Regions from separate parts of the Homo sapiens genome. Here all the other regions are linked to region 5. The links are contacts of gene promoters, found by promoter capture Hi-C in blood cells and fetal thymus (Javierre and others, 2016). All regions are on one chromosome and are shown on one strand. The core of a region is centred on a gene start or on the middle of the fragment in contact, and the rest is flanking DNA. Distances in the headings are between cores, read along the strand shown.

Region 1 (3,226 bases), core at 709-3,208, 420 kb after region 5:
CGACGCTGCTGTCCAATGTGAGTCCTACTCCGAGAAAAACTTTTTCTCTGTTTAGTTCTATTTACTTTGGCAGGGGTTGGCTTGCTAGCATTTTCTTCTTTTGCTTGTTCCTAATTCAAAATACAAGCGAATGGAAGTTTTTATACTACATATATATAAAGTTTAAATATAATAGCATTATTCTACTTCAGAAGCCAACTTTCTGGAATTTTTGAATTCTGATATATAATAAAGAACAGAGATAATATATAGTCTTTTATCTCAAGCTGAAACTCCCATAGGATCTGAAAAATGCTATTAAAAAGCTAATAGACATTATTTTAAATTCCTTATAAGTAATTAATGCAAGTATAGACATTTTATTTTAAAGTGTTTAAGAAAATAAAACGACCTGAATAAATAATACCTGAATAACTTCAGCATCACTGACAATCTGTGTATCTTTACATTCAGTTTTAACTTCAGTTTTGGCTGTGCTGATCCTTTCCAAAGCTTGTTCTCTTCTTTTCTCTCTCTTTTCAAGTCTGGCAAAAGCTTGCAAAATTGCTTCCATTTTTCTTTCTTCTCTTGTCTATGAAATTTAAATTTTAAGTGACATCATAAATATCAATGCTCAAAAGTAAAATTAAGTCCAAATGTTTGTGATAAATGTAAAAAATAATTGCTATGATACTATCAGCAAACTACTTCTATTATTGGTGGATATGGGGAGAAAAAACATTTCTGTTCATTGAAGACCTTTCAGAATTCCCATCATCTTGGTAAGCCCTGTTATTGCAAATATTTCATGAAGGAAACACTTGGATGACTGAGTGTTAATGATAAGGGTAAAACAAAACAAAAAAGCCTCAAAAATTACCTTGTTTTACCAAACCGAAAATCTTTTCTCTTAATAATACAGAAATCAGCCTTTTAAAAAAAGATCCAAAATCCCTAAGGTAATGATATGTTGAAAAGGTAAAATTCATATGCACTTGAGTGAGTATATTATTGGCATACTGCAGCAGGATGTTGTGAGGTAAAGTCTTGCATTTAAAAATTATGATTCTCATTTGGTAAGTATCTCTGTGACTCCAGGCAAGTTAACCTTTCTGAGACAGTAAGATGTGGGTAATAAAATCCTTTCCAAAGCTTGTTCTCTTCTCTCTTTTCAAGTCTGGCAAGAAGTTCATTTATGATGAACTTCTCTGAGTTGTTATTTGGTTCCAACAGAAAATACGAGGTTTTCAAACAGTAGTTGGAAAATGGTGGGCGTTCTGTATGTTAATTATTATTTCTACTTTAGTCCTCTTGCCCTCCATTGTAATTCTTATAAAGTATTCCTCTACCTTCTGCTCTTCCTGTCTTCACTGACAATTCAAGACAGGGACTGAGAAACAGCCAAGTGTTCCTTTGAGCATCAGTTCTCTATCCAAAGAGAACATTAAGAGTAAGACCCAGAGCCTTGACAGATGCTTCAGCTCTAAACCAGAACCAGGAACCACATCCATCAACTGTCCAGTTCTTAAAATGAAAAGAACCACAGGTCCTGAGGCTCAGATCCATTTGTCTTTCCTCCTTTATTACACATCGATGTGAGGAAGAAAGATCAGAAACTCAAGGTCTGGATGCCACAGTCTTCTCAATATTGGAGCTTTAGTTCCAGTAATTACCAGCAGAGATTCAAGCCTCAAGATACCTACACTTTGGAAACTACTGTTTACCTGTTCCTGTATTTTTGTTGTTGTTGTTACACTCAGCAAGGGAACAAAATACTATGTCAACAAAAGTACTCTAATAATACTTCTAAGTTTCTAATTTGTTACAGCAAATTTCCATATTGCAAACATGACTCTGAGGAAACTGAGGTCCAAAGAGGTAAGGTTCTTTGTTCATGGATTACGTATCTGTATCTCACTTCTCCTAGTCTGGGACGGGCAAACACTACAATAGCACATGCAAAAGATGGTTCTACTTGTTCACTGGCACTGAAAGTTTTACAGCTGAGTTCTTTCCTTACAAAATTCCTTATTTTTGGGCTTTTAAATTACCTTTACCCCTTTTTGTCTTGTGGTTCTCTGTAAAACTGTTTTTATCAGGGCTTCTCTAAAACCCTGAATGTAGAAGAGGAGAAATTTGGAGTAACTAAAAAGATCATTTTCCCAAACTGCGCTTTACCTGATGAACCTGGTTGGAGAGGAGGGATTAATTACTATGGTTATTTCTTTTCAAAAAATTTAAAATAAAAAATTTGGGGAAAGTACATTTTTCCAGAAGAAACAAACTTGTCTTGGCAAAAATCATTGTATGTGTAAAATAAAAAACTACCCACAGGTGGGCACCCAAGGAAGATATTTTTTGTAGTATGATTATCCTGGGTGTTGTAAGGTAAATATGAATTTATGCCAACAGAGTCTGACATAGTCCAATATTTTCTTGTTTGGGATACAAGAAATATTTTCTTGTTTTGGTCAGAGATAAAACTATATGATATAAACATTCAATTAAAAAATCAAACTCCCCTGTAAACACTACAGCTAATTTATAGTCAGAGCAAAATCCTGTATTTAGAGATGGTTCATAATCTTCTAGAGTTGATCAGGATCTTAAAAAATAATGTGGTCCAATACTGCTGAAGAAACCAAAGCCCATGTGTATTAAGTGACTCATTCAAAAGCAGAGCCATAATTACTATGCAGGTTATGCAGGTTTCCTGGTTTCTGTATTACTCTTCTTTCCAATTACTGCCGCTACATAAAGCAAAACTCTTCCTACATTACTACAGCTGGGTAAGAATAAAGCTTAAGCACTAAACATTTCCTAACAGCTTTAGACCTAGCTTTATCTTAAAATACACAAATATTTTGGAACATAAACGTGCCTGATTTTCTACATTTATTTTTAATTTCTTAAAGGTCATACATCATTCAGCTTTTCTAGTCACCATTACATACAGTACATTCTTTGACACAGCCATGTATATGGTACCTATTTAAAGACAAAATTTGCCTCCCATTTTATAGCTCTAACTGAAAAATAAGTTTTATTCTTTGAGGTAGTTAGAGCTGACTCTGGAGATAGAGAAATTAGGATTCCTAATTAACCCCTGCAGACTTTCCATAGCCCCTAACACCTGTGCTATATAATCTAAACTCGATAGATTTCCCATGAAATCTATACATTGTTTTTATGACATATGTCTTAGTTTATGGTTTTCCAAGAGTAAATACCAAGCATTGTAATTTCC
Region 2 (3,363 bases), core at 442-2,941, 440 kb after region 5:
TTTTAAAAAGAGGTCTAGCTTAACAGGTAAAGCCACTTCTGCTGAATAAGAGGCAGCAGATGAGTTCTCAGACACCATTAAGAAAATCACTGAGGAGAAAGAGTATCTGCCTGAAAAGTCTTTTAATGCAGACACAAATGTCCTATTCTGGGGGGGGAAAGTCATAAAAAGACATTTATTAGTAAGGAAGAGAAGGAAGCACCAGGATTTAAGGCAGGAAGGGACAGATTAACTCTACTGTTTTGTGCAAATGCATTTGGGTTTATGATCAGGACTGCCCTTATCTATAAAGCTGCTAAACCCAAGCCTTGAAGGGAAAACAAACGGAAGCTGCCAGTCTTTTGGTTGTATAACAAGAAAACCTGGAGGAGAACCCTTTTTCTGGATTGGTACCATTGATGCTTTGTCCCTCAAGTCAGACAACAGGTAGCTAGGAAGGGATTGCCTTTTAAATGTCTTTTGATACTGGGCAATGCCCCTGGCCACCCAGAACCCTATGAGTTCAACACTGAGGGCATCAAAGTGTCTCTAATTCAGCCTCTAAATCAAGGAGTGATAATGGCCTTTAAGGCTCATTACACACAGTACTCTATGGAAAAGAATGTCAACACTATGGAACAGAACCCTGAAAGAGAAGATCATGAAAGTCTGGAAGGATTATACCATCGAAGATGCCATCATTATAGAAAAAGCTGTGAAAGCCATCATGCCCAAAACAATAAATTCCTGCTGGAGTGAACTGTGTCCAGATGTTGTGCATGACTTCACAGGATTTACATCAGAGCCAATCAGAAAAATCATGAAAGAGATCATGGATATAACAAAAAAAGGTGGGGATGAAGGAAGAATACAGATATGGATCTCAGAGAAATTCAAGAGCTAATAGACACCACACCAGAGAAATTAACAGAAGATGCCTAATGGAGATGATTGCTTCCAAACCAGTGCCAGATGATGAGAAAGAAGATGTAGAAAAAGCAGTGCCAAAAAACAAATTTACATTAGACAATCTGGCAGAAGGGCTCCATTGTTTTCAAGACTGATTTTTTACTTTTTTATGATATGGACTCTTCTATGATATGGGCACTGAAGCTAAAGCAAATGACGGAAGACTGGCACCATATAGAAACATTTTTAGAGAAATGAGAAAGCAAAAAAGCCAGGCAGAAATTACTAATATGTTTTCATAAAGTTACACCATATGTGCTTCCCTCTCCTGCCTCCCCTTCTACTACCCCTTCTCCCTCTGTCACCCCTGAGACAGCAAGAGCAACCCCCACCCTTCCTCCTCAGCCTACTCAACATGAAGATGAGGATGAAGACCTTTACGATAATCCACTTCCACTTAATGAACAGTAAATATATTGTATCTTCCTTATGATTTTCTTAAAAACATTTTCTTTTCTCCAGCTTACTTTATTGTAAGAATACAGTATAAGACATACAGAATATGTGTTAATTGTCATTGGTAACACTTCCAGTCAACCGTAGGCTATTAGTAAAGTTTCTGGGGAGTCAAAATGTATACGCAGATTGTGGACTGTGCAGGCAGTTGGTGCTCCAACCCCGCATTGTGCAAGGGCCAACTGTACTGAGATTTATCATTAGTTTTTTACTAGTATTTCAGAAAAATAGTTCTTAGAGTTTCTTTGTAGGATCTCCAACAAACCCTTTTAATTTATACTGCAAAGAAAATTTTCTTTTGTTTTGAGGGGCAAAAGACAAATTATTCATTCATACTGATTAACCAAATAAACTGTATGACTAAAATTATATCCCCTAGAAGAAGAAAAAAATTCTCACATAAACAAGGTCAGTGTTGTATGGCTGAATTAGGGTTACTTGTTATAATTACTGTGAACATTTACATTACAATAATAATTAAGGAAAATGTAGAAATGAAAAGTAGCAATGCTGTAATAGAGGCTGATACTAAACTTCTGGTTTTCAAGTACTTTTAACTGATTCATGATAGATAAAAATAAAAAGCTATAAAAGTAATGACAATACCTAAATTATTACAGGGACATTATGGAACTATTTTCAAACAACAGATTACATTTATAGACTTGAACTCACCAATTTCCATAGTCAAAATCAAAGGCAATAGTAATTTCAGTTCCCTTTGGAATACTGTGTATAGAATAAATATAAAGATGTATGGTTCCATCTTGAATTTCATGCCTCACCTAAAAGTTAAAATAATTGTACATTACCATAAATTACTTTCTGCCTTCAGAAGCATCAGCTTACAATTTTGAAAATTATTCTTTTCAAATTATTTCACAAACACAACCTGGAAAATATGTCATTAATGACAAGGCTTATAACTATCTATTGGTGGTTATCAACTGGGAAGGTTTTTCAATCATATACTGCTATCCACTGCCACCCCAACCCCTAGAGCCCACAATGTGGCATCAAAATAATAATAATAATAATAATAATAATAAAAATACTATATTTCATCAATTCTTCTTATTTTTATTTTTTTGAGACGAGTCTCACACTTTCGCCCAGGCTGGAGTGCAGTGGTGCGATCTCGGCTCACTGCAAGCTCCGCCTCCCAGGTTCACGCCATTCTCCTGCCTCAGCCTCCCGAGTAGCTGGAACTACAGGCACCTGCCACCATGCCCGGCTTATTTTTTTTTGTATTTTTAGTAGAGACGAGTTTTCACAGTGTTAGCCAGGATGGTCTCAATCTCCTGACCTCATGATGTGCCGGCCTCGGCCTCCCCAAGTGCTGGGATTACAGGCGTGAGCCACCGCACCCAGCCTCATCAATTCTTTTTTTTCACCTTTTAGCATCTCTGAAATCAGGAGTCTTATAACTGGTGGCATCTTAGGGTTTTTTGTTGTTGCTGTTGTTGTTTTGAGACAGAGTCTCACTCTGCCATCCAGGCTGGAGTGCAATGATGCAATCTTGGCTCACTGCAACCCCAACCTCTCAGATTCAAGTGATTCTCCTGTCTCAGCCTCCCAAGTAGCTGGGACTACAGGTGCGTGCCACCACACCTGGCTAATTTTTAGTAGGGATGGGGTTTCACCATGTTGGTCAGGCTGGTCTTGAACTCCTGACCTCAGGTGATCCACCCACTTTGGCCTCCCAAAGTGCTGGGATTACAGGTGTGAGCCACTGTGCCTGGCCTTCTTAGGTTTGATGAGTGCAATAATGGTTGAGCAAACGCTACTTTTCTATGACAAGACACTATTCTATATACTTTATATGTATTAACTCCTTCAGTCTTCATATCACCTTTTTACAGATAAAACTGAGGTTAAAAAGCTAGTAAGTCACAGAGAAGAAATAAATTTAAGTCTGGTTCCAAAATCTGTACTCTTAGCTGGGTGCAGCAGCGCATG
Region 3 (3,451 bases), core at 39-2,538, 510 kb before region 5:
AGCTGCTGCTCTCTCTGAAGCTCTACATTTGCTGGATCCAGTCTGTCTCCCACAGGACCTTGTGGACCTGGTAGGCTCTCACCTGACTCCCCAGTTGGGAAGGGAGTGCTTCCCTAATGAACACTCACCTGGACCTTTCTTAGGGTTACTGGACTAGGGTCGCAGCAGCTGGGCAGCAGGGCATAGAGCTCGAGTGAAGCTTGCTCAGGCTCTGCTAGGCACACATTGGAAAGTTACATTTCCTATTCCATCATAATACCATTTATTCCCAGTTCATTGCTCATGCCTACAGGTGGAAGTCTGAGTTTTATGTCTAGATGGGGCTTCCAGTATGTCCCCACTCAGAGTCCTGCAGTTCCTTCCAATCATAGGAAGTGGGAAGGAGCAAGGCAGGTAGGTTGTAAGGCTGATGGTGTTTCAGCTTTGAGGAAAAAGTGATTTCACTTCAATAGTAATTTTAACCAGAATGGCTAAAGTTAAAAGGATTGACAATCCCAAGTGTTGGCAAGGATAGAGAGCAATTGCAACTCTCAGTGTTTGCTGCTGGAATGTGAATCAGAGCCACCACTTTGGAACTCTTTGGCAGATCCAGCAATTGCTCCAGCAATCCCACTCTTAGATATATGAGCAAAAAAGTGAGTGTTTATGTTCACCAAAAGACATGTACAAGAAAGTTCATAGTGTTGTAATTCACTTTTATTTTTTTTTTCTGAGATGGAGTCTTGCTTTGTCACCCAGGCTAGAGTGCAGTGGCACAATCTCAACTCACTGTAACCTCCACCTCTCAGGTTTAAGCAGTTCTCCCTACCTCAGCCTCCCAAGTAGCTGGGATTACATGTGCCCACCACCACACCAAGCTAATTTTTGTATTTTTTAGTAGAGACAGGGTTTTGCCATCTAGGCCAGGCTGATCTTGAACTCCTGACCTTAGGTGATCTGCCCACCTTGGCAAAGTGCTGGCATTACAGGCATGAGCCATCATGCCCTGCCTGTAGTTCACTTTTAAGTATATTTTTTAAAAGTAAAAAATCTGAAGCAGCTGCCACCCAAGTGTAGAATAGATAAATTGTGATATAATCATAGAATGAAACCAGACATAACCATGAAGAGAACTGAACTACTGCTAGACAGGACAACGTGGATGAATCTCACATGCAGGATGCTGATCCGGACACCACAAGAAAAAACAAAAGAAGGTGCCTACTGAGTTTTCTTCTTTCCAGATGACCAACTCTTAACTTACTCATCTGTTTTTTTCACTGTTCTGCTTCTTTTGAAGAAGATTTGAGGTGACTTACAAAGGTGTATGGCATATTTATAACTGAAGAAATCTGGGTGATGTTAAAACGAGGGCAGGAAAATAAGGTGGAAACCAGATGTAAGGATAGTCTTCACTATTTATGTCAGGAATTCCTACAAACTTTCTATGGTGAACAGAATAGAGCTTCCTAGCAGTCAATGCAAAGAAGAAACACAACAATTCCACACCCCAAAGTTAACAGTCTTGCTTATCAGAAGCACAGGTAGTTCTGAAATCTGATAGAAAATGTTCCTGTATCATTTCAGAACACGCAACTATGTGATCAAACCCCTTTCTATTTGTTTAAAAATTTGTCAAACATCCCATGTTTGACCCTGGATGTCTGAATCCCCTCAGCCCACATTTTCCCCCCTACACCATGCCCACACCATCCCCATAGAATTTAGGGTGAGGCAGCATCTCAGTGATTGACAGGCCCCTCCTTAGACCCCGTTTACTTTCCTGGGTGTGGTTTGGGGTAAGCCCTGTTCATGAAGGCTGGATTTCTGTTCTTTGGGTTGCCCAGCTTGCCACCCTCATTTCTGGAACCCAGACCAGCATCCTCAGCCCACGCTTTGCCACTCAGCTCATCTTCTTCCCAGTTGGCACTTCTCAGTGACCCCATCCCTTCCCCAGCAGTGACTCTGCGTGGGGCAGCTCCCTGGTGGCTGGACTCTTTCCATTTTGGCATTTGGGTTAGTGGATCTTTCCACTTTCTGGCTCCAGTTTTTGAGTTGAATTCATATGTTTCCCCGGTCACTAGTGAAAAAAAAATACAACAATCACATAAGCCAGAAAATTCCAATGACTGTCTCTTCCCCCACTTCTACCCTGCTCTGTTCTGACTCCCAAGGGAAGATGAAGCACACTAGAAGGTGTGAATCACTGACACAGACAGTAGGTGTGTGAATAGCCCCACAATCTCCACCAGCCTGCCCTTGCCACAAGCCGTGCTGCTCGGACCACACAGGTAGCAAACAGCAAACCTCTCTGGATAGAAAGGCTTAGGAGCGTCTCAAGGACATCTCAATTGCAGGATGAGAAGGCCATGTAACTCTTGAACTCCATGCAAGCTTTGGATAAATTAGGTTCAATCTCTAATGGGATTACCCGTTACTTTCTGATTCATTTTGTTTGTTTTAAAAGACCCCTGAATTCCTGCTATAAAAAGGAATTCACCAAGTGAGAAGGAAAAGGCTGATTTTTATTTATGTTAGGTTAGCAGCAATTTGTAGACACAGATACAAAAATCTGGTCCCGCTTGAGATGATACAAGGAAGCCATTTTTATTGTGTCCGAGCCAGCAGACACTAATTGACTTAGGCCAGTTGGCTCATGTCTTTCTTTTTTTTTTTTTCTCTCAACTACACAAAAACACAAAAATCCCCCCTTTTGCTCTGGAAGAGCCTTTTGCTCTGGAAGATCAGGTTTAAGGCAAGCCCTTGCTCCTTGTCTTTTCCATACAGCATGAGTGGCCTCTCAGCTCAGGATCCCACCAGCACTTATGCTAATGTGGGCACATTATGGTAACAAGCACCTAATAATAGAGGGAAATTTAATTCCAGCAGCAGCAGCAGCGGCGGCGGCAGCCTCTCACTGGAGAGGAGCCATCCTCCTTAGGAGGAGGACCGGTGCCGTTTGCATATGAGGGTGGCAGGAAGCCAACACACTTGCCTCCTGAATTTGGTTTCCTTCCCTTTATTCACGTCTATAATTGAGCCTTTGTAAGCAGAGGGATGAGTGTAAAGGAGCTAAATTTGGAGCTGATTTCACGGGGGTGATGAGAGCTCTGGAGGCCAGCTCTACCTTATGTTCATCTTGCCGACCAAGAGGAAATTCTTGGCCCTGATCTAGGGAAAAAAGAAACTACACTTGCCATTTCTCTGTATCTTCCACTACTAATAAGTGCTATTAGAAGCATCCAGGAAGAATGTGGATGGGCTGGGGGGGGCAATCAGTACCAAACAGCAGGAAAAAAAATGTGGATTCCTGGATTCACCAGTTCCCTCAACTGGTTTGTAATTTAGGAAGGGAGGCAAGAAAGAGGCATGGCCCTTGAACGTGAGCCTTTAGGTGGAGACCCACTGAGGCCTCACGTAAGTGTGACCCTGTACTTGAGCATCTGCTAGCCAGCTGGGTTCACAGCTGATC
Region 4 (3,257 bases), core at 490-2,989, 400 kb after region 5:
AAAAACTGGTCTCTAGATGACAGCATCGAGTGTGTTGGGATAAAAGAGAGTGATTGTGTGCATGTGTGCGCGCGCGTGTGTGTATGTGTGTGTGTCAGACTACAGACCTTAAATACAATTGAAAATTTCAAAAGCAAGAAGCTTCTGTGCAGCAGCATAAAATCCACGTTTCCCTGAGTCAGGGACAACATCAAGAGAAATGTGAGAACTGAGGGCTAAAACCCAGGAGCTGAGTTTTAAAAAGAGATACTGTATTCTGTATTTTTAATATTTAGTGTCTGAGCTGAACTTGTCACAGTGTTTTAAAATTATCTCCTGAATACCTAAAAAGCAACAGATTCTTTTGATGCTGTAAAGAGCAAAGAAAGCTCTTTCGTGGGCATTTGACAGCTACACAGGCTGGGCGTTGTCACTGCCACTCCTCTTGTTTATCCCTCCATCAGATGATGGGCGTTTGGTTTTCCCCCACTTTTTGGCTATTATGAATGATGCTACTATGATCATTAATGTACAAGTTTGTGTGGGCAGATGTTTCCGTTTCTCTTGAATACACATGTGAAAGTTTAAGTATAAATTTTTAAATTTTGATGAAGTCCAATTTATATACATTTTACAATTTGTGCTTTTGATGTCACATCTAATAAATCATTGCCTACTTCAAGGTCATGAAGATTTACTTTTCTAGGAATTGTTTAGTTTTAGCTCTGAGGCATATGACCTATTTTGAGTTGATTTTTGTATGGGATGTGAGGTAGGGTTTATACACATTTTAAACTCCAATATTTACCTACATTTGGTTGTCTACTTGTGTAAGAATTCATTCAGATCTCTTCATTGTCTCTTGCTTTGTATTGGTATTTCTTGGTAGGTTTACTTTCTACGTGTACACAATTGATGCTCATCAGTTTTATATCATGGTTTGCTTTGTAATTACCAGTGTTCATGTAAATATAGTCCAGGATTTGCCTTTAGAGTCCTCCCACATGTAGTGTGGAACCTCATGGGCTTCTTTATTTAATTCTGGAATATGACAATTTCATGGATAAAATAATGTATTTTCCTTCACAAACCACTTTAAGATTCAAGAGAAGTATAATAGAACTTCCCTGTTTCCTTAGAAGGACTCTGCAAGTCCAGGACTGGCCAGTACAGTTGCTGTCACAAAGCCTTTACTCTGCAGGAGGAACCCTTCCTCAGAGCCTGCTTCCTGTTGGTTTTCCTTGGCTCTTTCAAGCTGTTTCTCAGAGCAAATTCAGAAGCCTAAGGGGCTCTTGGGGACCACACAATTGGCTGCCAGGCTCATGTTTGCTTGTGTGTGTGTGAGTTGATACTGAGATTGACAGCTGATAGTCACAGGAAGGGTGAAGTGATATTCCACATTCTTTAAGGAGGACAGGCTAGAAATGGAACTTTAAGAAACTAAAATTGTCACAGTTGTCTAGTTATTTGCAAAACTTGTTTCAGTGAAACACATCTTCATATATTTTCTTTTCTCTCTTTTTTTTTTTACGTCTTCATATATTTTCTTTTTTCCTTTTTTTGAGACAGAGTCTCACTCTGTTGCCTAGGCTGGAGTGTAGTGATGCTATCTTGGCTCATTGCAACCTCTGCCTCCTGGGTTCAAACGATTTTTGTGCCTCAGCCTCCCAAGTAGCTGGGATTACAGGTGTGCACCACCACGCCTGGCCAATTTTGTATTTATTAGAGATCGGGTTTCACCATGTTGGCCAGGTTGGTCTCGAACTCCTGACCTCAGGTGATCTTCCTGCCTTGGCCTCCCAGAGTGCTGGAATTACAGTCATGAGCCACCGTGCCCGGCCGATGACATTTCTTTAACTTGTTAGGGTGCTACTTTTATAGTAAGAGCAAATGGTGAAAATGTGTTTTTAAAATATGCTTTCCCCTCTTATTCTTAATTATCATTCTAAGTGATGGAGGTGGCTACATTTCTTGGGCATCATCTGCAGGGCTGGAGCTGGCTCATGGACTCGAGACCCTCACTCATTCAGTGAGCCCACTCTTGTTGTGTCTCCTAGCAATAGATACAGAGTTGGGGGCTTGGGCTTTGTGTTTAAGTAACCTTATCAACTATTTCCAGGGCAAGGTTACTTCTTATACTGAGCTTAAGGGTTTGCACACATAATCATTATAGCATCTGGGTGAGTTGATTTTCCTTTGCATTATATTATAAACTTTTTCCACAAAAAAAGTCCACACATTTTTTTTTTTTTTAGAGGCGGTTCAGTGTTTTGTTATATTGCAGTGCTGCTCTGTGCTCAGGACCATAGGTGTTTAGGACTCTCCTGCATATACTGTTGTTTATAGACTGCTTCTTTGCACAGTCTTTACCTTGTTAAAAGTAGTTAGATATTTTACTGCTCCTTGCGAATATTTTTACCAGTTTATAGTATGCCTAGTTATGGATGAATAGTTTCTCATGGCCTTTCACTATTATATTGTTTTGCTCACTGTTACTATGCAGCTGTTAAGCATTTATAGTGGTAAAACTTCTCTTTTCATGGAAGATTGTACTTAAAAGATGCCTTGTTGATGGATCTTAGTTTAACACCTGGCGCCTCAGAAATAGGTTCCTTTACTATTCTCAGCACACAGTGCTTCTCTGTAGTTACCTATATTTGCAAACCTGGAGAGTATTTTTTCTGAGATAGAATAGATTCATGTCATAAAAGTTCGCTCCCTTTCCCAGAGAACTTGGTTTAGTCACATGTGAGCTTTCTTAGTTTGCTTTAACTGTTGCTGTGGTGAGATCAACAGTCTAAATCAATATAGTCATATTACAGAAAATGTGGAAATTGAAATAACCTACTAACAAAAGCTGATGTTTTGATTCAGTTGATTTCCATCTTAATGAGCATTTTAATAATCTTGTGATTATCTGTAGGACATAGTTTGACTGTTCTTTTACTGCCTAATGTTGTACCATGATCTTCTCCCATGTTGTTAAGTAATATTAAATACTATTAAGTGAATCTACCTTGGTTTTCTTTTAACCACCATTTTACTATTACTGGCTCTTCGTAATTTTGCGAGTACATATAATTTTGTGCCAGCATATATTAGGCATGAATTTGGGGTGGTGCAACCAGGGTTTATCTCCTTGGGCTGGATTCCTAGAGCCGGAATTTCAGGCTTAGAGGGATAAACCTGCAGTCTCTGTTCAGACTTTGTTTTTATGGAGACTGTGTTTCCTTCAACAGGAGATCCTTTCCCGCCTCTAATATTACAGGTTCATTTCT
Region 5 (3,129 bases), core at 618-3,117:
GCTAATTTTTGTATTTTTAGTAGAGATGGGGGTTTCACCATCTTGGCCAGGCTGGTCTTGAACTCCTGACATCGTGATCTGCCCACCTCGGGCTCCCAAAGTGCTGGAATTACAGGCGTGAGCTACCATACCCGGCCCGTCCTTAAGTTTTGGCAATTATGAATAATGCAGCTATAAACATACTTGTGCAGGTTTTTGTGTGAACATAGTTTTCAACTCCTTTAGGTAAATATCAAGGAGTGTAATTGCTGAATTGTATGGTAATAATATATTTCTTTTTTTTTTTTTGAGACAGAGTTTCCATCTTGTTGCCCAAGCTAGAGTGCAATGGTGCGATCTCAGCTCACTGCAACCTCCGCCTCCTGAGTTCAAGCGATTCTCCTGCCTCAGCCTCCCAAGTAGCTGGGATTACAGGCGCGTGCCACCACGTCTGGGTAATTTTTTGTATTTTTAGTAGAGACGGGGTTTCACCATGTTGGCCAGGCTGGTCTCAAACTCCTGACCTCATGATCCGCCCACCTCGGCCTCCCAAAGTGCTGGGATTACAGGCGTGAGCCACTGCGCCCGGCCGGTAATAGTATATTTCATTGTGTAAAAAACAAAACAAAAAAACAAATTGGGCAGGGCATGGTGGCTCATGCCTATAATCCCAGTACTTTGGGAGGCCTAGGCAGGCAAATCACTTGAGGTCAGGAGTTCAAGGCCAACAGGCAAAAACCCCGTCAAAAAAATTAGTCTGGCATGATGTCAAGCACTCGTAGGCCCAGCTACTCGGGAGGCTGATGCAGGAGAATCGCTTGAACCCTGCAACAGAGTGAGACTCTCTCTCAAACAAAATAAAACAAAACGGAAAAACTATTAGAGGCTGGGAGCGGTGGCTCACGCCTGTAATCTCAACACAGAGGCGGAGGCGGGCGGATCACGAAGTCAAGAGTTCGAGACCAGCCTGGCCAACATAGTGAAACCCCGTACTCTACTAAAAATACAAAAAATAAGCCGGGCATGGTGGCGTGCGCCAGTAATCCCAGCTACTCGGGAGGCTGAGGCAGGAGAATCGCTTGAACCCGGGTGGCGGAGGTTGCGGTGAGCAGCGATCGCGCCATTGCACTCCAGCCTGGGCGACAGAGCAAGACTCCGTCTCAAAAAACAAACAAACAAACAAAAAGCAAAAAAACTATTAGAGCCTGGGCAACATAGTGAAATCTTGTCTCTACCCCCCACCCCCAAAAAAATTAGCCTGGGTGCGGTGGGATGCACCTGTAGTCCCAGCTACTTGGGATACTGAAGTGGGAGGATTGCTTGAGCCTGGGAGGTCGAGGCTGCAGTGAACTGTGTTCACGCCACCGCACTCCAGCCTGTGCGACAGAGCGAGACTCTGTCAAAACCAAACCAAACCAAAACAAAAAAAACCTATGATCCGGTTTCTTGAAGCAGATCCTATGGCAAGCCATCAAGCCAGAGCGGTAAGAAGTAGGAAGATGGTGCTTTTAGATCCACTACATTCCCAGGATCAAATGTAGAACAATATTTAGTCCCTAAAGTGATTCTCTTTCCATTATTGTCAACTGCGTGGTCGGTGCAACGTGAAAGGGCCACAACTATGTGAAGGAAACACTTAGAATATAACACCAAAGGAGGCAATCGCTGCCTTAGACTTCCTAAAGATCTAAAGAACTCTTAGATGCTTGGTGAAATCGCTCTCTGCCGCTGGTGCGACTCAGGCGCGGTCGCGAGGAAGGTCCAGGGTGAACGCGCGTAGGCTGGGAGTCCGCGTTGGGGCGCTCCCTGGCTTGCAGGCCGCTCCGAGTGGGTGGGCCGGGGGCGGGGCCGGCGGCAGGGAGCGGACTCCGCCCCCGGGGCGGGTCCAGTCGGGCCGCGGCGCGTCGCTGCGCCGCACGTGTGCGAGCCCGGCCGCCGGTGAGTCGGCTGGAGCGCATCTGGTCCTCCGCGCGGAAAGCGCTGCTTTTGCCTGGCCGCCCTAGCCGCTGGCTCATCCAAGTGGCCTTCGCCGCTCTCTTGCGTCCCAACCAGAGCGCTGGCCACCTCGCCGCCCAGCTCACGCCGCGCCCGCGCTCCCAGGCTCCGGGTAAGTGCGCGGCCTCCCCGCGGCCGCCGGGGCTCCTCGGCCTGGCCCTGGCCCCAGCCCCAGCCCCAGGGCCCCGCCCCAAGAGGCAGTGCGGACTGGGAAGGCGGACTGGGAAGGCGGCCCCGCAGTGGTCAGAGCCCGCGGCGCCTCCATTATGGATCGTGCCAGCGGGAGCACGGTTGGAACCCAGTGGGTCCTGCGCTTCGGCGGTGCAGGCGCCGCTCTCCGCTCCCCGCTCCCCGCTCCGCTCTGCCCGGCCAGTCGTCCGGAGGCGCCGCGCCCGAGCGCTCCCCTCCTCCCCGCGCGGCGCTGTCCCCCGGGGGCCCCCTTCCCACTCCTCCCTTTCTTTGCCCCGGACGCTCCCTAAACTCTTGTCCCTCCGTCAGAGGAACACTGGCCCTGAAGCCCTTCACGGTGCCACTGCTTCGCCGCGCCTGCCTTCTGTGGGTCCAGCCCACGTGTTCCACCCCTGTGTCCTGCGTCGCCGCTCACTGGGAGCCTACTAGGCGCCACGCGGGCTCTGGGGACTGCTTGCTTTGTATGCATTTCCCAGAGTAGGAGTGGACGGGCTGCAGACTCAGAGTGCTTTCTCCAGCCCTCAAGCTGGGTGAATGCTTAACGAGTGGATGGAGGTGCTGCTGTGCAAGCTGAAATTCGAGTCCTCCTCGTCAGCCCTGCGCAGAGGTGTTTAGAAGCACACCTTCGTTGCCTGCCGAGTAGGGTTGGCAAAGAGTTTAGTTTTTAAAATATTTGGTCCCGTCAGACTACTTTTTTTTTCCATTCCAAAAATAAAGGGTTACTAAGGTTCCCTCCCCCCCATCCCCAAGCCTCTAATCATCTATGAAATGACTATGCCCCATTGGCCTGGGGGAGCCTCGACTATTGAGGGATCTGTCGAAAATCAGACTGTACAACACTATTGAAAAGGGGTTGGTTAGGCAATTGTTAGGTTCAAACATTAGGAAAGTAGCCAACAGTACGTACTTAACAACTCCTTGTGAACATGTTTTTGGTTTTTTTATTTTTATTTTTTTAATTTTTTT
Region 6 (3,434 bases), core at 18-2,517, 470 kb after region 5:
ATAGACTTTAGAGTTGAGAGAATAAAATTATTATATATTTTAAGTCCGTAAATTCTTATAACTATATGATCTGCAAACTAGATCTTTAATCCTTCATCAATTAAACAGTATGCAAAAAATTTCATAGTAAAAATACTATCACTCAAAAAATACCAGTACTTGTTAAAATTCTTTATACTGAATAATTTTACATCCCTTCTCTTCCTACGTTATGTCTCAATTTATTATATCATGGTCAGTAAACAATCACTTAGATAACATAGATATTAATAATAAATTTCAATCTCCCTCTCATCACTATTTTAATTCTGCCAGTTTCCTAATGCCTTTAAAAAAATTTCCAGCTTCCCAAAACAGGTATTAACCAAAACCGCGACTTAAAAAAACTTAGCATTCAATATACTGAAATCATGCCAATTTTTAAAGACTATTTATATATGAGGGACTTTTCATTCAATTATACAGCACCGTCAGGTGCTGTATTTTTGTACATCTTTCTACAATGAAGAGGCTATAAAATACGTTTAGCTGTAGTTCTATCTCTTCTTAACAACTGAAGTATAGTTAGGATATGGGCATTCAATAATCCTTCTTAATATAATAAACTTCAGGGTTAACTATTAGATCTTCAAGCAATACAGGCTGGGTGCAGTGGCTCATGCCTGTAATCTCAGCACTTTGGGAAGCCAAGGTGGGCAGATCACCTGAGGTCGGGTGTTCGAGACCAGTCTGGCGAACATAGTGAAACCCCATCTCTACTAAAAATAAAAAAAATAAAAAAATAAAAAAAAAAATTAGCTGGGTGTGGTGGTGCATAGCTGTAATCCCATTTACTTGGGAGGCTGAGGCAGGAGAATCGCTTGAACCCAGGATGCAGAAGTTGCAGTGAGCCAAAACTGCGCCACTGCACTCTAGCCTGGGCGACAGAGTGAGACTCCTTCTCAGAAATAAAAATAAAAAATAAATAAAAATAAAAAATGACCTTCAAGCAATATGATTCATGACTCAATGCTTACTATATGCCAAACCCTGTGCTAGCCATTGTAGATACAATGATATTAGTGATAAAACAGACAAGATGTTTATAGTCATAAAGCTTATGTTTTAGTAAAAATATAAAGCACGGCAGCAATGAAATAAAACAAGTATTTCAGATACTATTTTAGATAATGGAAGAGGGGAGGCCTCACTAGTATGTGATATTTGAGTTTAGCTAAGATTATGCCAAGAACATAAGAATGATCCAGGCAGAGGAAATCACGAGTACAAAGTCCCTAAGGCAGAAACAAATGTAAAATATTCAAAAGAACAACAACAAAAAATCAATATGGAAGTAATAGTGAGATAAGAGAATAGTGAGACGAGATTAGGGAAGGAGGGCCTTATGGTCATAAAAAGTTAATATTTTAAGTAAAACAGAAAGTCACTGGAAGCTTTTTAAGTGGGAGAATTGTATGATCTGGTTTATGCTTCAGAAGAAGCATAGTAGCTTCTACAGAAAATAAATGATAGAAGGCAAAAGAGAAACATGGAGAGTATTCCACTCCAGTGTCTAGTCAAGAGATTACAAGGGCCTGGATGAGGACAACAGTAGAAATGGATAAAAGTGTACTGATTCAAAATATACTTTTGGCCAGGCGCGGCGGTTCATGCCTATAATCCCAGCACTTTGTGAAGTCAGGAGTTCGAGACCAGCCTGGCCAACACGATGAAATCCTGTTAAAAATATAAAAATTAGCTGGGCGTGGTGGCGCGCACCTGTAGTCCCATCTACTCTGGAGGCTGAGGCAGGAGAACTGCTTGAACCCAGGAGGCAGAGGTTGCAGTGAACCAATATTGTGCCACTGCACTCCAGCCTGGGTGACAGAGCAAGACTCCATTTCAAAACAAAACAAAACAAAAATATACTTTGAAGGAGGACCCAGTACAGACCAATAAATTAGACATAGGGGTTAAGGGGAAAGGACCAATCAAGACTGACAGCTTAGAGTTTTAAGCAACTGGATAGAGATGTAGCCATTTAAAGAAATAGATGATGCAGGGGCAGTGGCTCACACCTGTAATCCCAGTACTTTGGTAGGCCGAGGCGGGCGTATCACCTGAGGTCGGGAGTTTGAGACCAGCCTGACCAACATGGAGAAACCCCGCCTCTAGTAAACATACAAAATTAGCTGGGCATGATGGCGCATGCCTGTAATCCCAGCTACTTGGGAAGCTGAGGCAGGAGAATCGCTTGAACCTCGAAAGCGGAGGTTGCAGTGAGCCAAGATCGTGCCATTGCACTCCAGCCTGGGCAACAAGAGCGAAACTCCATCTAAAAAAGGAAGGAAGGAAGGAAAAAAGGAAGGAAGGAAGGAAGAAAGGGAGGAAGGAAGGGAGGGAGGAAGAGAGGAAAGGAGGAAAGGAAGAAAGAGAGAGAGAGAGAAAAAAGAAAGAAAGAAGAAGAAAGAAAGAAAGAAAAGGAAAGAAAGAAGGAAAGAAAGAAATAGATGAGGCCTGGTGCTGTGACTCATGCCTGTAAATCCAGCACTTTGGGAGGCCGAGGCAGGTGGACCACTTGAGGCCAGGAGTTTGAGACCAGCCTGGCCAACATGGTGAAATCCCATCTCGAATAAAAATAAAAAAATTAGCCAGGCTTGGTGGCCACCTGTAATCTCAGCTACTCAGGAGGCTGAGGCACAAGGCTCACTTGAATCCTGAAGGTGGAGATTGCAGTGAGCTGAGATCATGCCATTGCACTCCAGCCTGGGTGACAGAGCAAGAGTCTGTCGAAAGAAAGAAAGACAGAAAGACAGACAGACAGACAGAAAGAGAGAGAAAGAGAGAAAGAGAAAGAAAGAAAGAAAGAAAGAAAAAAGAAAGAAAGAAAGAAAAAAGAAAAGAGAAAAGAAAAGAAAAGGAAAAAAAATAGATGAGCCTAAAAAACAATAACCAAAAGTAGATAGTTGGGGGCAGAAGAACATCAAGAATTCCAAGTGAAGCTGTCAACTTGGGTATACAAGTCTGGAGCTTAGGAAGATTATGACTGGACATAAAAAATTGAGGGTAACCACACACAGAGATTATATTTAAAGTCAGGTAATAACCTAAAAACCAAGTTTTTTAAAAGGAGAGGGGACTGCAGTTGAGTCTTAGACATTTAAAGCACCTGGGCATAACAGAATAAGCCAGGAAAAAATGACCAATAGTGGTTAGTTAAGTGTGGTACCTAGAAATCCAAAGTTGAACCTTCCTAGTAGGAAGAAAGAGAAGGGATGATTATTTACATCAAATCTGAAAAAATGTATATAAATTATAGAAGACTACCAATTAGTTTGACAACACAGGAGGTTATAGTAGTGTTGTGCAACCTGATAATGAATACAAACAGCTTTCTCAAGGAGTTTTGCTCTTAAGAGGATTAGAGAAATGAAATAATAAAAAAGGGAAATAAT
Region 7 (3,250 bases), core at 658-3,157, 500 kb after region 5:
GAGAATAATAAAGCAAACAGCAAAATGTCACAAGTCCGGTGATCTTGGTACACAGTATAAGAGAGTTATTTGTACTATTCAAGTAAATTTTCAGTAAATTTTACATTATTTTTAAGTTAAAACCAAAAATATCTTGGTTTTTTAGCATTCCTCATCATGTGTGTGTGGCAATTTTTTAATTAAAAATTGAATCATCAGTGTGATATATCAATTATTTAGTTTTGGAAGCCCTCCCAAGTACCTTTGAACATTCCTGGAAAAAGGTAATTGTTTTCAGGAGAATTAAACGTGTCTTTCTCTTGCTTTACTCTGAGAAACGCCACTCTACAAACCATGAACACCCACCCCACCACCATCTCTCTAACTAGTCTCAGATAATTAGAGGGGATCAAGATGGTGAATAGTGGCTCTTTGACACCTTGCCAATTCCTGTGAGGCCCATCTGTACTTTCTTCAAATAAATTATGTGAGATTTCCCTATAGCCTTATAACAAATCCTTTATTTAAGCTAGCTAGAGCTGATTTCTGTTCCTTGCATCCAAAAAACTCTAAAACAGCAGGCTTTTAAGAAGGTGAAATAAACTACGGGTTCTCTCAAAGCAGGGACAGTCTCATCTCTCTCTGCATCTGTGGTGCCAGGAAAATAATAGCTACTCAAATTCATCTTTTGTCTGTGCTTCAAAAATATTGTTACAGCGAAGGCTTAATGATGTAAGATGTAATAAGCCTGTGTCAAGGCAACCAATTAAGCAACTTCATTTAAAGAGAAGAAGCAGAGACTTATTTTCTGGGTAAGAGTTACTATGTATCAGACCAACCTGAGACCCCTATTTATGGCTACTGGACCACAGTCCTAACCATTCAAATTAGTCACATCATGAATCTTCCCATCTCAGCCACTTCATTAAAGAGGAAATGGGGTTTTCAAATTCCTGAACGCTGTCTTTCTTTAAATGTTACATAAAGCAAGATGGTAAGAGGAACTGGAGATATCTCTCTGTAAACTCAAAAATAGAAACGATTACATATATTAGTCTCTGAAATAAGAAAACAAAAATATTAGAAGAGTGTATGTTTCTCATACACATTCTCTGAAAGACCCAAACTATGTTTCCCTGACAATATCCTAAGTGGTAATGGTTAATTCTTTTCTTTTCACCATATTCCTCACTTTTTACTAAAAACCACTGACACTAGGCTTCATCTTAGGCCAAACGGTAAGGAAAAGATATTTAATCTTTAAGCTTATTTAACTCAAATAAGTTTAAAATAATTTATAAGTGTAAATTTTTAAGACTTTAAATGGAAATTATTTTAAATACCCTATGAAAACAAAAGTCAACATAAATGAAAAAATTTAAACATTTTTGGTCTCAGATAAAACATGAGACAGCATAATTACATAAACTTTATTTATTTTTTTAGAGATGCAGTTTCGCTCGTTGCCCAGGCTGAAGTGCACTGGCACGATCTCAGCTCACTGCAACCTCCGCCTCCCAGGTCCAAGCAATTCTCCTGCCTCAGCCTCCCAAGTAGCTGGGATTACAGGCACCCGCCACCAAGCCCAGCTAATTTTTGTAGCAGAGATGGGGTTTCACCATGTTGGCCAGGCTGGTCTTGAACTCCTGAGCTCAGGTGATCCACCTGCCTCAGCCTCCCAAAGTGCTGGGATTACAAGCGTGAGCCACCATGCCAGGCCAAGTGAACTTTAAAGTTGTAAGTACCACAAACCAAAACTAACTCAATCCACTATCGTATGCTAGACAGGCATGACCTTAAATGCTGCAACCAAGTTGGCTATTACACAGGTGTGATTACACAATATCATCTTTCTCAATATTAAAATTCAGGACCAAGAATTTTTTTTTTTAATTTACTTATTTACTTTTTTTTTTTTTTTGAGACAGAGTCTCACTCTATCGCCCAGGCTGAAGTACAGTGGCACAATCTCGGCTCACTGCAACCTCCGCCTCCTGGGTTCAAGCAATTCTCCTGCCTCGCCCTCCTGAGTAGGTAGGATTGCAGGCACCTGCCACCACGCCCGGCTAATTTTTGTAATTTTTAGTAGAAATGGGGTTTCACCATGTTGGCCAGACTGGTCTCAAACTCCTGACCTCAAATGATCCGCCTGCCTCGGCCTCCCAAAGTAGTGAAATTACAGGTATGAGCCACCGTGCCCAGCCTATTTTTAATAATTAATATCTGATATGTCCTAGTCTTCTGAAGGAATGTTTCTTCCTTTGGATTAACTCTAAATTAAGCAGCCTAAGAGGTGCTAAGAAATTACCTCTGTCCAATTGTCGTAAAAATAAAGCTACATAGATCATTGCTTATCACGTTGACCTGCATGCAGATCCTTTCTAAACCCAGATTTCATATTTGAAACAGTTTTGAAATACAAAATATTTTAATTAAAAATGATGAACAAGTAGTTTACACATATTATAGGTTAATTATTTACTCATTAAAAGACGTAGTGTCTGTTTTGATGGCATCTTAATGCAACACATCAAAAAAGAATTCTTTGTTGACCTGTTGCATTGAAAATGTCCAACATCCCAAAAAGCTTAAATAGTTTTGGTAAATAACCAAACGAGATTTCCAATAAAACTGTAAAATTCACCTAACAATAAAAAAAGTTTTTCTGTCCAAAAATAAAATCCAATTATGAGCTGTTCATGAGGGAAAAAAAGAACTGATTTCATATCAAGTGAAAACATGTTATCTCGTGAAATATAAGACCAACTGCTTTTCCTGACTCTGATTTAAGTAAAAAGCATCCTAGTTACCAATGGTTAATAAAAACTTCTTTTATCCTTAAAGATATGAATTAAAATCTAATTAACTTACTCTGGGTCACCTTCATTTGATTTTTAATGTAGCACTTAGCATGGAAGTTCACAATAACAAAAAAACAATTTGTTTGCATCATAATATGGTTAATTCTTATCTCTTGCAATTGCTATTAAAAATATTGCAATTGCTATTAAACAGAGTATTTTATATAAAGTAAAATACTCATTTTATATTATACAAAGTAAAATACTGTTTATTTTATATAATGCAAAATACTCATTGTTTAATAGCAATTGCAAGATTTTTAGTTAAATACCATCCACTTCCAGTTTAGTGTAGAAAACAATTTCAACAACAAATACTGTTCCTCCATGTTAAGTAAATTTGTAGGTAATACAAAAAATTATTCTTTCAATGTCAAGAAAAAAATAAGGCTCCTCCCAACATCTGCACA

What was found. The method cuts DNA at HindIII sites, captures the fragments that hold promoters and counts their contacts. A CHiCAGO score of 5 or more calls a contact.
Region 1: a fragment that was not itself captured here is called in contact with the fragment with the promoter of PUS7 in region 5 in 6 of 17 cell types (total CD8 T cells, total CD4 T cells, neutrophils and 3 more); the score reaches 8.7 in total CD8 T cells.
Region 2: a contact is called between a fragment that was not itself captured here and the fragment with the promoter of PUS7 in region 5, in 1 of 17 cell types (naive B cells). The highest score is 5.1, in naive B cells.
Region 3: a contact is called between a fragment that was not itself captured here and the fragment with the promoter of PUS7 in region 5, in 1 of 17 cell types (total CD4 T cells). The highest score is 5.0, in total CD4 T cells.
Region 4: a contact is called between a fragment that was not itself captured here and the fragment with the promoter of PUS7 in region 5, in 7 of 17 cell types (total B cells, naive CD8 T cells, naive B cells and 4 more). The highest score is 8.8, in total B cells.
Region 6: a contact is called between a fragment that was not itself captured here and the fragment with the promoter of PUS7 in region 5, in 2 of 17 cell types (total CD8 T cells and naive CD4 T cells). The highest score is 7.2, in total CD8 T cells.
Region 7: a contact is called between a fragment that was not itself captured here and the fragment with the promoter of PUS7 in region 5, in 5 of 17 cell types (neutrophils, total B cells, fetal thymus and 2 more). The highest score is 6.7, in neutrophils.

The regions. Positions count from the first base shown.
Region 1 is chr7:105,098,770-105,101,995 of GRCh38, reverse strand. KMT2E (lysine methyltransferase 2E (inactive)) reads right to left here. Exons shown (of 27, transcript NM_182931.3): 16 at 407-571; 17 at 1-110. Among named protein-coding and RNA genes, the nearest start is that of KMT2E, 86 kb to the right of the region's middle. The HindIII fragment of the contact is 1,649 bases long and covers 1,134-2,782 here.
Region 2 is chr7:105,080,514-105,083,876 of GRCh38, reverse strand. It overlaps KMT2E (lysine methyltransferase 2E (inactive)), which reads right to left. Exons shown (of 27, transcript NM_182931.3): 13 at 2,080-2,189. Among named protein-coding and RNA genes, the nearest start is that of KMT2E, 68 kb to the right of the region's middle. The HindIII fragment of the contact is 3,696 bases long and covers 1-3,363 here.
Region 3 is chr7:106,031,001-106,034,451 of GRCh38, reverse strand. It overlaps CDHR3 (cadherin related family member 3), which reads right to left. Exons shown (of 19, transcript NM_152750.5): 19 at 1-2,059. The coding sequence ends at 1,755. Among named protein-coding and RNA genes, the nearest start is that of CDHR3, 69 kb to the right of the region's middle. RefSeq lists an enhancer at 3,016-3,451. The HindIII fragment of the contact is 2,174 bases long and covers 202-2,375 here.
Region 4 is chr7:105,119,629-105,122,885 of GRCh38, reverse strand. All of the region lies in intron 15 of SRPK2 (SRSF protein kinase 2), which reads left to right. Among named protein-coding and RNA genes, the nearest start is that of KMT2E, 110 kb to the right of the region's middle. The HindIII fragment of the contact is 3,192 bases long and covers 144-3,257 here.
Region 5 is chr7:105,521,009-105,524,137 of GRCh38, reverse strand. PUS7 (pseudouridine synthase 7) reads left to right here and starts at 1,867. Exons shown (of 16, transcript NM_019042.5): 1 at 1,867-2,086. RefSeq lists enhancers at 602-1,102, 2,386-3,040 and silencers at 1,739-2,488, 2,698-2,843. The HindIII fragment of the contact is 10,027 bases long and covers 1-3,129 here.
Region 6 is chr7:105,050,086-105,053,519 of GRCh38, reverse strand. The region is part of intron 3 of KMT2E (lysine methyltransferase 2E (inactive)); the gene reads right to left. Among named protein-coding and RNA genes, the nearest start is that of KMT2E, 38 kb to the right of the region's middle. The HindIII fragment of the contact is 337 bases long and covers 1,099-1,435 here.
Region 7 is chr7:105,018,758-105,022,007 of GRCh38, reverse strand. The region is part of intron 1 of KMT2E (lysine methyltransferase 2E (inactive)); the gene reads right to left. Among named protein-coding and RNA genes, the nearest start is that of KMT2E, 6.2 kb to the right of the region's middle. The HindIII fragment of the contact is 1,322 bases long and covers 1,247-2,568 here.